Linked DNA regions of Homo sapiens: all the other regions are linked to region 4. The links are contacts of gene promoters, found by promoter capture Hi-C in blood cells and fetal thymus (Javierre and others, 2016). All regions are on one chromosome and are shown on one strand. Each heading gives the region's core, a stretch centred on a gene start or on the middle of the fragment in contact. The rest is flanking DNA. Distances are from core to core; before and after follow the strand shown.

Region 1 (3,057 bases), core at 534-3,033, 170 kb after region 4:
TGTCATCCCCGTTTAACAGACAGAGGCTCTGAGGGATATGAGGGGAGGGAGCAGGCCTAGGCCTCTTCAGCTGAGGGCACTCACCGTGGAGATGACATCAGCTGAGCTGGCAATGAGGCCGGGCAGGAGGGCCACGCCACTCTCCATGATGGCTCCGTGGAAGAGTCCTTGGGATATGGGGGACACAACAAGCGAAGACACACTCGTGCCACCCGCAGACTCGCCAAAAATGGTGACACGGTCAGGGTTGCCTCCAAAGTGGGCGATATTCTGCTGGACCCAGCGTAGTGCAGCCACTTGGTCCAGGTAGCCCCAGTTGCCGGTTGCGTGCTTGTCTCCAGTGCTGAGAAGTAGCAGGGACAGGGATCACAGGGCTGTCCTGGCCCCGCTCAGCCCGGGTTGCCCAGCCCAGCCCTAGTCTCACCTGAAGAAGCCCAGGACACCCAGGCGGTACTGGATGATGACCACCACCACGTTCTCCAAGGCAGCCAGCATGGAACCATCATACAAGGAAGCCATGCCAAAAACAAGCGCACCACCGTGGATCCACACCATCACCTGGGGAAATCAAGGCAGCTACCATGATGCTCCCACCCAGCCCAAACCCCACCAGGGCCACTACCTAGACCAACCAGTGCTTTGCCTCTGTCTACCTCCCCATTAGATCTCCAGCACAAATTCATTACATGGGCAAATGGTTAGGCACCCAAGATCTATCAGGAAGACCAGGCCTCCCAATCTTTGCAATCGAACCCCCTGTATCAAAGCCTGGGTTCATTAACCCCAGATAATTCACCAAAGTGGAAAGAAAAGGGGTGTCTCCCTGATGGCTCCACATGAACATTAACCAAAAATGTCCTTAGCCTGAACCACATAGTGAGACCCCGTTTCAACAGAAAATGTTTTAAAAATGAGCCAGGCATGGTGGAATAGGCCAGTAGTCCCAGCTACTCGGGAGGCTAATCTGAGAGGATCATCCCGGATTTCGAGGTTACAGAGAGGTATGTTCATGCCACTGCATTTTAGCCTGGGCAACAGAGCATGATGCCATCTCTAAGAAAAAAAGTTTTTGTGTGTGCCCATTCTATAGGCCCAACAGATTATCCATGGCTGGGGTTCTTGGTCACCTCAAGGTGCAGCCCTTTGGCACTTAAGTGGATCTCCTGGCATGAGTTGGCTGAGTGAGTCCTGGGTCCAGCCCAGAGCCACAGCCTTTGACCTCTGGGAGCAGCCAGAACTCTGTGACCCCATGTCCAGGGGCCAGCTGCCCAGTCTGGGTAAGGAGCATTTCTTGGACCTGACAGTGAGAAGCTTCTCAGCATGGTCCACTCTGAAGCAGGGCCTGAGCTAATATTGTCCTTTTCAGCTTCTTGCAGAAGAACTGTCCTCCAACCCCCAGTGAACTGTGGCCTGACACCCACCGGCAGGTTAGAGCCTTCATGGCTATGGGCCGGCGTGTAGATGCTGAGGTACAGGCAGTCCTCAGACATGGAGTCGGAAGGGAAGGTCATGTTGAACTGGCTAAGAAACTCTGACTCCACTGCGGTGAGGTCCTGTAGACACCTGGTAACCAGGGCAAATAATCAGTCCAGGGGCCAGGCTGTGGCCAAAACCAGACCCTGGGTTCAGAGGTGCTCCCAGCCACCCTCAGACCCTTCCCACAATATCCTGCTCACACATGATCCCTCTCAAAAATCCCTTCCCACCAAGTTACAGGCCACAGGCTCTGGGGAAGCTGGGATGCAGCTTGGACTTCCAGGGAGGCCTCGAGGTTACTGAGGACCTTGGGTATCATTCCTCGCACTGCCGGAAACCTTGACTCTTAGGGGTTTCTATGAGAACCATTGGCTGCATGTGTTGACATTCACCACTATATTCCTGTAACCCGTAAGGCCTGGGACAGGGGAGTAGCCCACATATGTGTGCTACATGAGTGAATGGATGTTAATTTCTCATGAGAAGGGCAGTGGGATGTCTCTCATCCCAAGTCTAAACTCTCAAAAACTCATCATTCCTACATGGCCTCCAGTTGGAAACATATACATATACATATACATGTCTCTTGGCCAATGGCTCCTGGTCCTGTCAGTGGACACAGTGCCTGTGGAGAGTGCAGGTCCCCAGAAAGCTACCACTACTGTTCTCTTCAGGTATTTGCAACATCTGCCACTAGAGTTAGGGGCTCCTACAAGGTTCATAGAGCCAACCCGAACCTTTCCCAGAGACACCTGCCACTGGTGGCAGAGAAAGCTTGGCATAACCAGAATCTGGGGAGATACGTGTGTCTGCCCCTCCCTTCGGCACCTGGAGCCAATGTCTTCTGAATGCCAAGCCCTGATCCAGGAGTCTGAGAAGTTATTCTGCCCTCCTGAGCCTCAGCATGCTCATTGGAAAAATGCACGTGGGAATCCACGAAACTCAGAAGGAAAACTGGCTGTGGGGGTTTAGATGAAATGATAACTGCAGCCTAGCTGAGCTCAGAGCACCCCCACCCCTGCCCCAGGGCCTGGAGTTCCCTGGACCCCTTGGAGAGCTTACATGGCCGGATGGGTGGTTCCATCCCTCACACCACTCCAAGATTCAGGGGGCTCAGGGGGTGCAAATCGCAGCGGACCTAGAGGTGGCTTGGCAAATGGAATTCCCAGGAAGGTTTGGACCCCGGCATTGGCGCCCTTCACATGGACAAGACTCCCCAGCACCTGCCCCGTGTGTGTGGTCCGGATGGGACTGGCTGAGTCCTGGCCTGTGGGCAGAGAGACAGACATCACGGTTGGGTTTGACCAATCGACTGCCCTCCCAACTGTTGGTATTGCTGCTTCCTTGCCATCCTCATCTTAGCTCAAGGGACTCTGATCTGTAAACATGGGCTTTACAAACTTCCTGCCTGTAACACTCCCTTCCCGCTCTGGCTTCCTGGGCCTGTCTCCATCCCACCAGGCTGAGGCTCCTTGGGGCCAGGCATCATCATTCAGCCCTAGGACCTTCAAACAAAGGGTCACATGCCCTTGATGGGACTAGAGTGTCCTTCAACTGTGTGCCAGGTCATGTGACAGTAGG
Region 2 (2,892 bases), core at 44-2,543, 210 kb after region 4:
GAAATGACAGGACACCCAGATCTGCTGGGAGCAGAGTTCTCATAGGGTCCCAGCTGAGCCCTGGAACTCCCCAGACCCCCTCTGCCACTCCATCTCTGCGTCAGCCCAGCACCTGTGCCCTATCCGGCTTTGGCCACCATCTCCACCCTGGGGAGGGGGAGCATAACCCCCTCCAGCCTGAGGTTGGCGCCAAGGTTTAGGAGCCAGCACAGAAGCCTCTGAGAGCCATAAGGGTAGAAAAGGTTACCCGGTACTAAACCAGCCAGCCTCGGGGTGATCTCATCCACTTCCCAAGATAAGCCCCCTCCCCCACCCTCTGGCCACTGGCCAACAGGGTAAGTCACGAGGGAGCTGGTGGAAGAGTGTGTGTGAGGGCTGGGGGAAGGATTTCAACTTGGGGTCACACTGTACATTCTGTTTTGTGATCAATTCCCCCCAACATTTACAGTATTGACAATTAGCAGTTTCCTGTCAGATAAACTATAAAGATCTTCCCCCATCACTTTTTCTTTTCCTAATTATTTCTAAAGTCTGCCAGGATGGACACATCAGAATCTCTTTGTCCAGCCCTTGAGGAGGACATGTAAACAGTGTCCAGTTTCTCTTTCTTACAAACACCAGTGCCATAACCATTTTTGTTCAAATCCTCTTACGCAATTGCCTCTCTCTCTCTCTCCCTTTCTCTCTTTCTCTCTCCCTCTCTCTATTTCTCACTCAGTTGAGATAAATTCTGCCTGGTAGCAGGTGGGAGGGCAGGCCTCACTGTGTGCCTGAGTAGTTCTGGGCCCTTCCCCAAGCCAGAGGTGCCAGGCCCAGGGCAGAGGCCAGTCCAGGGCCACAGGGTCAGGACAGTGGACAGGCTATGGTCTGCTGGACTCTGCCTGCTCGAGGCGGGCTCCCCAAGCTTCCACCTGCTCTTGCCCACCCCCAGCCCCAAGGACTAGGCTGGCCTGGACACAGGGAAAGGCCATATACAGGGTATCACATGACCCATGCGTGCACACAGCCCCCAATCCCAGGCATAGGCAGAGGTCCCAGCCTCAGGGTGGGGCCCCCACACTCCGTCCAATTCACATCTTGCCTAGTGCTCCCCAGCTCTTGCTAGAATGCTTCCATAGACCAACAGCTCACTCTCCCTCCTAAGTTGCTGCCCGGCCTTTGGGGAGCAGGTGGAGCACATGCTTCTTATCAAATCAATACCTATTCGGTAGAATCACATGATTGCTGAGGAAGGTTTGGATTCAGACACCAGGGTTTCAAACTCGACTCTGCATTTACTATTTTTGTGACCTTGGGCACAACCTTTTACATGCCCAGGCTCAGTTTCTTCATCTGTAAAATGGGTTAATAATACTTGATCATAGGGTTGCATGAAGATTAAATGAGATAATACATGTAAAGTGCTCAGCAAGGCTCACAGATGTGACCTAGTTTATGATCACAAATTATCACAAATTGAGTCCCTACTATGTCCAGTTAACAGAGAGACTCCCTCACTGGAAGCAACTCAGAGTGGCTGAAGCACAGAAGTGGTAGAGGTATGAGATGGGGTTGAAGAGTGGGCAGGGCCAGGTCACACTCAGCCTTGCACATCATGAAGGGATTGTGACATTTTTCTGACTCCTTGGAAGCAGGGGAGGATGGTGGGAGGCAGAAATGGGAGGATGTCACTGAAAGCTTTTATTATTTTTTTTAATGATTTGTTTGTTTGTTTGTTTGTTTGTTTTAGAGACAGGTCTCTATTGCTCAGGCTGGAGTGCAGTGGCATGATCATAGCTCACTGTAACCTCAAACTCCTGGGTTCAAGCGATCCTTCTGCCTCAGCCTCCCAAGTGGCTGGAACTACAGGGGTGTGCGACCACTCCTGGCTCATTTTGTTCAACATTATTTTGTTACAACATTGATGAAGAAAAAAATCTATTTCTGGCTGGGGCTACTGTCTGTGTGGAGTCTGTAGAGGACTTTCTCTGGGTACTCTGGTTTCTTCCCCCATCCCAAAGATGTGCATGTTAGATTAACTAGCTTGTCTGCATGCTCCCAGTCTGCATGAGTGTGAGTGTACTCAAGGCAATGGCATCCTGTCTAGGCCTGGTTCCCGCCTGGCGCCCTGAGCTGCTGGGATAGGCTCCAGCCATCCATGACCTTGAACTGGAATAACTGGATAAATAATTCTATTACTTGTTTTTATTAATCTTTCTTTCTTTCTTTTTTTTTTTTTTTTTTGAGATGGAGTTTCACTCTTGTTGCCCACGCTGGAGTGCAATGACACAATCTTGGCTCACTGCAACCTCCGCCTCCTGGATTCAAGAAATTCTCCTGCCTCAGCCTCCTGAGCAGCTGGGATTACAGGTGCCCACCACCAAGCCCGGCTAATTTTTGTATTTTTAGGAGAGACAGGGTTTCGCCATGTTGGCCAGGCTGGTCTCAAATCCCTGACCTCAGGTGATCCACCTTCCCCAGCCTCCCAAAGTGCTGGGATTACAGGTGTGAGCCACCACACCTGGCCTTGTTTCTATTAGTCTTTCTTACACGTGTTTCAATGTTTAATATGAGAAGCATTTGGGTCTTTATTTAGAAGTCTGATGATATTTCTATCACCAGAAATATGCTGTAGGAACTTAACTCTTGTTTATGTCAATTAGCCTATGACAAAATTGGTTTCCTTGTATGTCATTTTGCTTAAAGCTGCAATTTCCAAGAACTACATTAAGTGAGGACATTATATAAAGACTTACTATATTCTATTAGTTGTTGTCAGGCCTCTGAGCTCAAGCTAAGCCATCATATCCCTTGTGACCTGCACCTATACATCCAGATGGCCTGGAGCAACTGAAGATCCACAAAAGAAGTGAAAATAGCCTTAACTGATGACATTCCACCATTGTGATTTGT
Region 3 (2,918 bases), core at 67-2,566, 230 kb after region 4:
TAAGTGCCTGTAGTCCCAGCTACTCAAGAGGCTGAGGTGGGAGGATCGCTTGAGCCCAAGATTTCAAGACTGCAGTGAGCTATGATCACACCACTGCACTCCAGCCTGGGCGACAGAGCCAGATCTGTCTCTTTAAAAACAACAACAACAACAAAACCCCACCAAACTGTACTGCTTTATGCAGTAACCTTTTCTCTACTTAGGTTTTATCCTAGTTATTTCCCAAACAAGGAGTCAGTAGGTCCAAGGGTGTAGACTCATTGCCAAACTGATTTCCAAAAGCTTCACATCTGCCTCCTCAAGGGGGTGACGAGTTTCCTAGTCCCTTCACTAGCCCTGGTGGTACTTTTCCTTGGAATATAATAAATTAAATTAAATTAAATTAAATTAAATTAAATTAAAAAAAAAAAAACAGAACAAAACCTTGACCCATTATAATGAGCTTTTCATGTATGAATCCTGCCCTCGGGATCTCGAGATCATTTGTCGGGACCTCAAGAGTTCCCAGGACTGAGGACCGTCCCTTCACTCCCCCACCCCCTGCCAGCCCACCCCGCAGAAGTCGGTGCGGGGGCGGTCTGTCCGGGAGCAGAGGGCGCCTGACGCTCCGGCCCTGCAGTCAAGGCAGGCAGCGGTGCAGGGTGATACACCGCAGCCAGGACGCAAACCCTCTTGCATCCTTAAAGAAAACAGACAGGTCCCAAGTTCAAATCTCTGACTTCAGCCTCATCGCTAAGTGCATGGACTCCGGAGCCCACCAAAACCGATCTCCCTAGAACCCCGGCACGGCCGTACCCCAGCTGGGTGCCCCCGGGCGACCCGCTTGGTGCCTCTGAGCCCCGGCTTGCCAGCCTGTAAAACAGGGGCGTGCAGTCGGGACACAGAGCTCCAAGGGGTGCTCGATAGGCCAGAGCAGCTAGTGGGGTGCCCCGGTAGGCAGCCAAGGGTCCTCGGCGAGCCCGCGGGCCCACGTGGCGCGCGCACGTGAGTGGGGTGACCGTGGTCGTAGGCCCAGCTGGTCCCTCTCCGCCGCGGACCCGCCCCCTCACCTCAGCTCTCCCTCCGCCCAGTCACCTGAGCCGGTGCCGCAGGCCGGGAGGGTCAGGCGCCGGCGAGGCCTGGCGGGGAAAGAGGTGTCCACATCCCCCGCTCGTTACCTTCCCTACCTCGGACCCTCGCCCGCTTCTCACCAGCTGGCGAGGCCACAGCCGCCCGCTCCGTCCGGTCAGTTCAGCGCCTGCGCACAGTGCCACAACTGCGGCCACCAGGTCCTCACCTCACCCAGGCGGTCCCTAGTCAGGACCCAGCTCCAGAAGGAAGCGCCCTCCCGCCAGCCCTGGTTGGCTCAATTGCGGAGGCGGGCCCTTGATGGACAGAGGTATTGCCCAATGGCTAAAGAGGATGAGAGGCGGGCAGAAAGGCGGGACCCGGGAGGGGGCAACACCGCCCCTTACCCCCTGCCTGGGTGCTGAAAGTGTTCGAGCGCGGGGCCACAGGACCAGGCAGTCACGTGCCTGAGATCGCCAGCTACGTGGCCGCTACACTCTGCATACCCCGAACCCAGCGGCCTCCCCAATTCCTCACCGTTGTTAGAACACCTCACTGCTTCCTCTCCACTTCGGTGTCGACCACTCCAGAACCCTCTCTTGAGCGCCACACCCTGATGTCCAGCCACCTGGACACCTGCCTCTGGAGGCCCCCAGGCGCCTCAAACATAACTTACCCCAAACTCAGCTTTCTGCCAAACTTGCTTTTTCTCTTCTCTCCTAACCCAGTAATGGCCCCACCATCTGCCCAGAGACCCAAGCCAAAACCCTGGGAGGCATCTTGACTCCTTCCTCTCCCTCACCCTCTCTTTCCAGTTATCTAATGCTGTAAATCCTATCTCCTAAATCTCTCTCCACTCATCCATCCGGCGACGCAGCCACCCTATTCCAAGCCTCTCACTTGATTTTACGGTTTTCCCTCCTCCACCTTTGACTTGGTCCTAACCACAGAGCAGAGCAGCCAGAATGACGCCCCTCCCACCTTTTCTCGTGGTTGGTGGGTAGAGACAAGGTCTTTCTATGTTGCCCAGGCTGGTCTCAAACTGCCGGGCTCAAGCAATCCTCCCACCTCAGCCTCCCCAAAGTGCTGGGATTACAGACGTGAGCCATCACGCCTGGCAGAATGACACTTCTAAAACTCAAATTCCAAGGCCGAGTGCGGTGGCTCCTGCCTGTAATCCCAGCACTTTGGGAGGCCGAGGCGGGGGGATCTCCTGAGGTCAGGAGTTTGAGACCAGCCTGGCCAACATCACGAAACCGTCTCTACTAAAAATACAAAAATTAGCTGGGAGTGGTGGTGCGCGCCTGTAGTCCCAGCTACCTGGGAGGCTGAGGCATGAGAATCATTTGAACCAGGGAGGTGGAAGTTGCACTGAGGTGAGATCATGCCACTGCACGCCAGCCTGGGAGACAGAGTGAGAGTCTGTCTCAAAAAAAACAAAAACAGAAACAAAAACAAACCAAAAAAACCCTCAAATTCCTGCCCTAAAGTCTTTTTTTTTTTTTTTTTTTTTTTTTTTTGAGACGGAGTCTCGCTCTGTCGCCCAGGCTGGAGTGCAGTGGCGGGATCTCGGCTCACTGCAAGCTCCGCCTCCCGGGTTCACGCCATTCCCCTGCCTCAGCCTCCCAAGTAGCTGGGACTACAGGCGCCCGCCACTACGCCCGGCTAATTTTTTGTATTTTTAGTAGAGACGGGGTTTCACCGTTTTAGCCGGGATGGTCTCGATCTCCTGACCTCGTGATCCGCCCGCCTCCGCCTCCCAAAGTGCTGGGATTACAGGCGTGAGCCACCGCGCCCGGCCTCCTGCCCTAAAGTCTTTAGTGGTTTCCCACAAACCATTAAGCTTTGAACTGACCATTATATTGGCCTGC
Region 4 (2,931 bases), core at 64-2,563:
GACCAAACTGCATTTTTTAGAAACTAAATGTTACTTCTCCCTAACTCCTATTTCATCCAACCTTCACCTGTCACAACTGAGGTCTGGGTTTAGGATTACAGCATCCGATACAGACTATATTTCAAAAGAGAGAGAAGCGGGGCCGGGTGCAGTGGCTCACGCCTGTAATCCCAGCACTTTGGGAGGCCGAGGTGGGCGGATCACGAGGTCAGGAATTCGAAACCAGCCAGCCTGGTCAACATGGTGAAACCTCGTCTCTACTAAAAATACAAAAATTAGCCGGGTGTGGTGGCGCGTGCCTGTAATCCTAGCTACTGGGGAGGCTGAGGCAGGAGAATCGCTTAAACCCACGAGGCGTTAAGTTGCAGTGAGCCAAGATCACGCAACAGCACTCCAGCCTGGGCGACAGAGCGAGACTTCGTCTCAAAAAAAAAGAAAAAAAAGAGAGAAGCAAGTCAGCTGTTCCTTTAATACACACAAACTCAACTCCCTTGACCAGAGCCCCAACATCTGATCATGGGTTCCAAGCCTAGGTTTCCCCTCCTAAAAAGGGGAAGGAAGCCACAGCCCAGAAAAGCAGTGGGAGACAGACCACAGGCCACAGTGATGATCAGAGGGGTCAGCCACTTCTCAGCCATTATTTAGTCTGTAAAATGGAAATGGGAATAACAACAGTACCTATCCTCAGGTGCCGGCGAGGGGTACTAGAGAGAATTACGTCCAAAAAGAGCAGGGCCGGGCATTAGGCATTTGGGGAGAGCAAGCTATTATTGTCTTTACTACTACTGTTCCACCGTCCCAGAAGAGACCCTGCTGAGACCCGAGACGAGCAACTGACAGGCAAATCGGGCCAGTTGGAGCGGGTATCTAGTGCCTGGAGCCCAGCGAGCCGAGAGGACGAAAGAGGTGAGGAGCTGCGGGCGCAGGGGCGTGAGAGACTGAGAACAGGTGGGAAGAGCCCAGGAGAAAGCAAGGATCAGCGAATGGGGTCCTGACAGAGGACCCCAAACTCACCCAGCGTGAATTCCCATTGCTCGTTCCCCAGAGAGCGTTCGGGCACTACCTCCAGGTCCAGCATTGGTTCGGCTCGCCTGGCCCGGGCGGCCTCCCTGCGGCAGCGCAGAAGGGACCCGAGCTAAGGAGACAAAGCAGCGGCTGACAGGCCGCCCCCGCCGGCCCGCCACAGCCCCGCTTTCCACCTCCTCCCCGGCGGCAGCGGCAGCAGCACCGGCCCAACACCACACCTCACCTCACTTCACCTCACCTGCAGCAGCCGCGGCAGCGGGGGCAACGACGGCGGCGGGCGCGACTGCAGTAAAAGTGGCGTGCCGGGCCGTAAAGCGCGGGGAGGGCCGGGCGAAGGCGGGAGTGCCAGCGCGAGGGAGGAGCCTGGGGCGGAGCCGCGCACGCGCAAACTGCGGGTCCCGCCGCCGTCTCTGCGGAGGCTGAGTCGGGCAGGGCTGTAACGTTGGGAACTGTTCGGGCTCTAGGAGCAAGGAGCCCAGTACTTCGTGAGCCCCTACATCTGTGCACCACAGCACACACACTTCACATATCTACATAAAGAAGGGTTCACCACACAACACACACGTCACACAGCTGCACAAGACCCGTCTGCTGTCTACACACACGTCCCACTCACGTTCACTGGTAGCAGAAGGCAAGTACAGAGGGCACGCTGAGGCCCAGCAGGAGGGAGGACGCGGAGTCCCTAAGCCTCACGGCCCCCACCGTCTCCGTTGGGGCCGGAGGTGACGCTGGCCGCAGCAGCTTTTAGTTGTTCAGGAATGACGGCCCCACCCAGTCGCCCCTGGGGCAAGGGTCGAACCGTAAGCGAGTGAGGACTGTGGGCGTTAGGGGTCGGAATTGGTTCGGGGAGAGGACTGGGTAGAAGAGGAAGGGGCCAGGCCAGGCCTCCCTGCTGACCACATCCAAATGTGCGCAGTCCCCCGGGACCAGGATCCGAAGCCGCCGGCAGCAGCGTGGACCAAAGCTGTGGGGGTCTTGATCAACCCCTTGGCGCTTTCTGTGCCACAGTTTTCCTAATCTGCAAGGGACAGGAAGGTTCCTCTAGCAGGTTCAGCCTGAGGTTTTGGCCCGTGCCCCGGGACACCCTGAAACTAAAGGACAGCCGAGGCCTATGCTGATGCCAAGCCTTCACGGAGGCAGTCTCTGGGTTCTCACAACCAACCTGAGATGCGAGATTATACCGACTTTACATAGGCGAATACATGAGGCCCAGAGATGTTAAAGACCCAAGGCTCCTTGGTTCTAGGCGCAGAACCCAAGTCCTTTCCATTACATTGCCCCTGGAAGAAGGTTTTCAGTAGGGGAGAGAGTGGCATACTAAATTCTCAAACTGGCTTGATACTAGCGTTTCTTTGGAGGCTCTATCAAAATTTGAAGTCGCTGTTTGATTAAAATGAACTACATGGAGAAGGTTGTCCACTGCAGCATTGTATGCCAAAACAACAGAACTGGGTCACTGAGATGTCCAGTAGGGAAGTGGCTAAATAAACCGTGATATAGATAGATAGATAGATAGATGATAGATAGATAGATAGATAGATAGATAGATAGATAGATAGATAGAGATATGTTTTTAAAGGTGAATGCTGAGAGCAGTGCTCACAGCGGTAATACCAGCACTTTGGGAGGATGAGGTGGGAGGATCGGTTGAGCCCGGGAGTTGAGACCAGCCTGGGCAACATAGCAAGACCCAGTCTCTATTAAAAAAAAAAATTAGCTGGTGTCATGGCAGTAGGTTGGGCCAGGAGTCCTAGCTACTCAAGAGGCTGAGAGGTGGGAGGATAGCTTGAGGATAGCTGCAGTGAGCTGTGATTATTGAGCCCCGGGGCTCCAGCCTGGATGACAGAGCAAGATCCTGTCTCTAAATAAATAAATAAATAATAAAAAGTGAAGTAGGTCTCT

The links. Contacts are between HindIII fragments. The CHiCAGO score rates a contact against its expected background, and 5 or more counts as called.
Region 1: a fragment that was not itself captured here is called in contact with the fragment with the promoter of PHAF1 in region 4 in 3 of 17 cell types (erythroblasts, M1 macrophages and megakaryocytes); the score reaches 7.5 in erythroblasts.
Region 2: a contact is called between a fragment that was not itself captured here and the fragment with the promoter of PHAF1 in region 4, in 1 of 17 cell types (endothelial precursors). The highest score is 5.5, in endothelial precursors.
Region 3: the fragment with the promoter of PDP2 here is called in contact with the fragment with the promoter of PHAF1 in region 4 in 4 of 17 cell types (M2 macrophages, total CD4 T cells, M0 macrophages and 1 more); the score reaches 5.8 in M2 macrophages.

Annotation. Positions count from the first base shown.
Region 1 is chr16:66,937,723-66,940,779 of GRCh38, reverse strand. CES2 (carboxylesterase 2) reads right to left here. Exons shown (of 12, transcript NM_001365405.1): 2 at 2,539-2,743; 3 at 1,422-1,563; 4 at 425-558; 5 at 85-343. Among named protein-coding and RNA genes, the nearest start is that of CES2, 3.7 kb to the right of the region's middle. RefSeq lists an enhancer at 1-222. The HindIII fragment of the contact is 939 bases long and covers 1,314-2,252 here.
Region 2 is chr16:66,897,594-66,900,485 of GRCh38, reverse strand. It overlaps LOC107984821 (a long non-coding RNA gene), which reads left to right. Exons shown (of 3, transcript XR_001752244.2): 3 at 1-797. Among named protein-coding and RNA genes, the nearest start is that of PDP2, 19 kb to the right of the region's middle. RefSeq lists enhancers at 1-482, 483-1,378. The HindIII fragment of the contact is 773 bases long and covers 907-1,679 here.
Region 3 is chr16:66,878,913-66,881,830 of GRCh38, reverse strand. PDP2 (pyruvate dehydrogenase phosphatase catalytic subunit 2) reads right to left here and starts at 1,316. Exons shown (of 2, transcript NM_020786.4): 1 at 1,191-1,316. RefSeq lists a silencer at 863-1,042 and enhancers at 502-1,274, 1,523-1,602. The HindIII fragment of the contact is 2,608 bases long and covers 285-2,892 here.
Region 4 is chr16:67,108,323-67,111,253 of GRCh38, reverse strand. It overlaps PHAF1 (phagophore assembly factor 1), which reads right to left and starts at 1,313. Exons shown (of 16, transcript NM_025187.5): 1 at 1,015-1,313. The coding sequence starts at 1,078. RefSeq lists a silencer at 1,178-1,437 and enhancers at 997-1,738, 1,739-2,481. The HindIII fragment of the contact is 22,954 bases long and covers 1-2,931 here.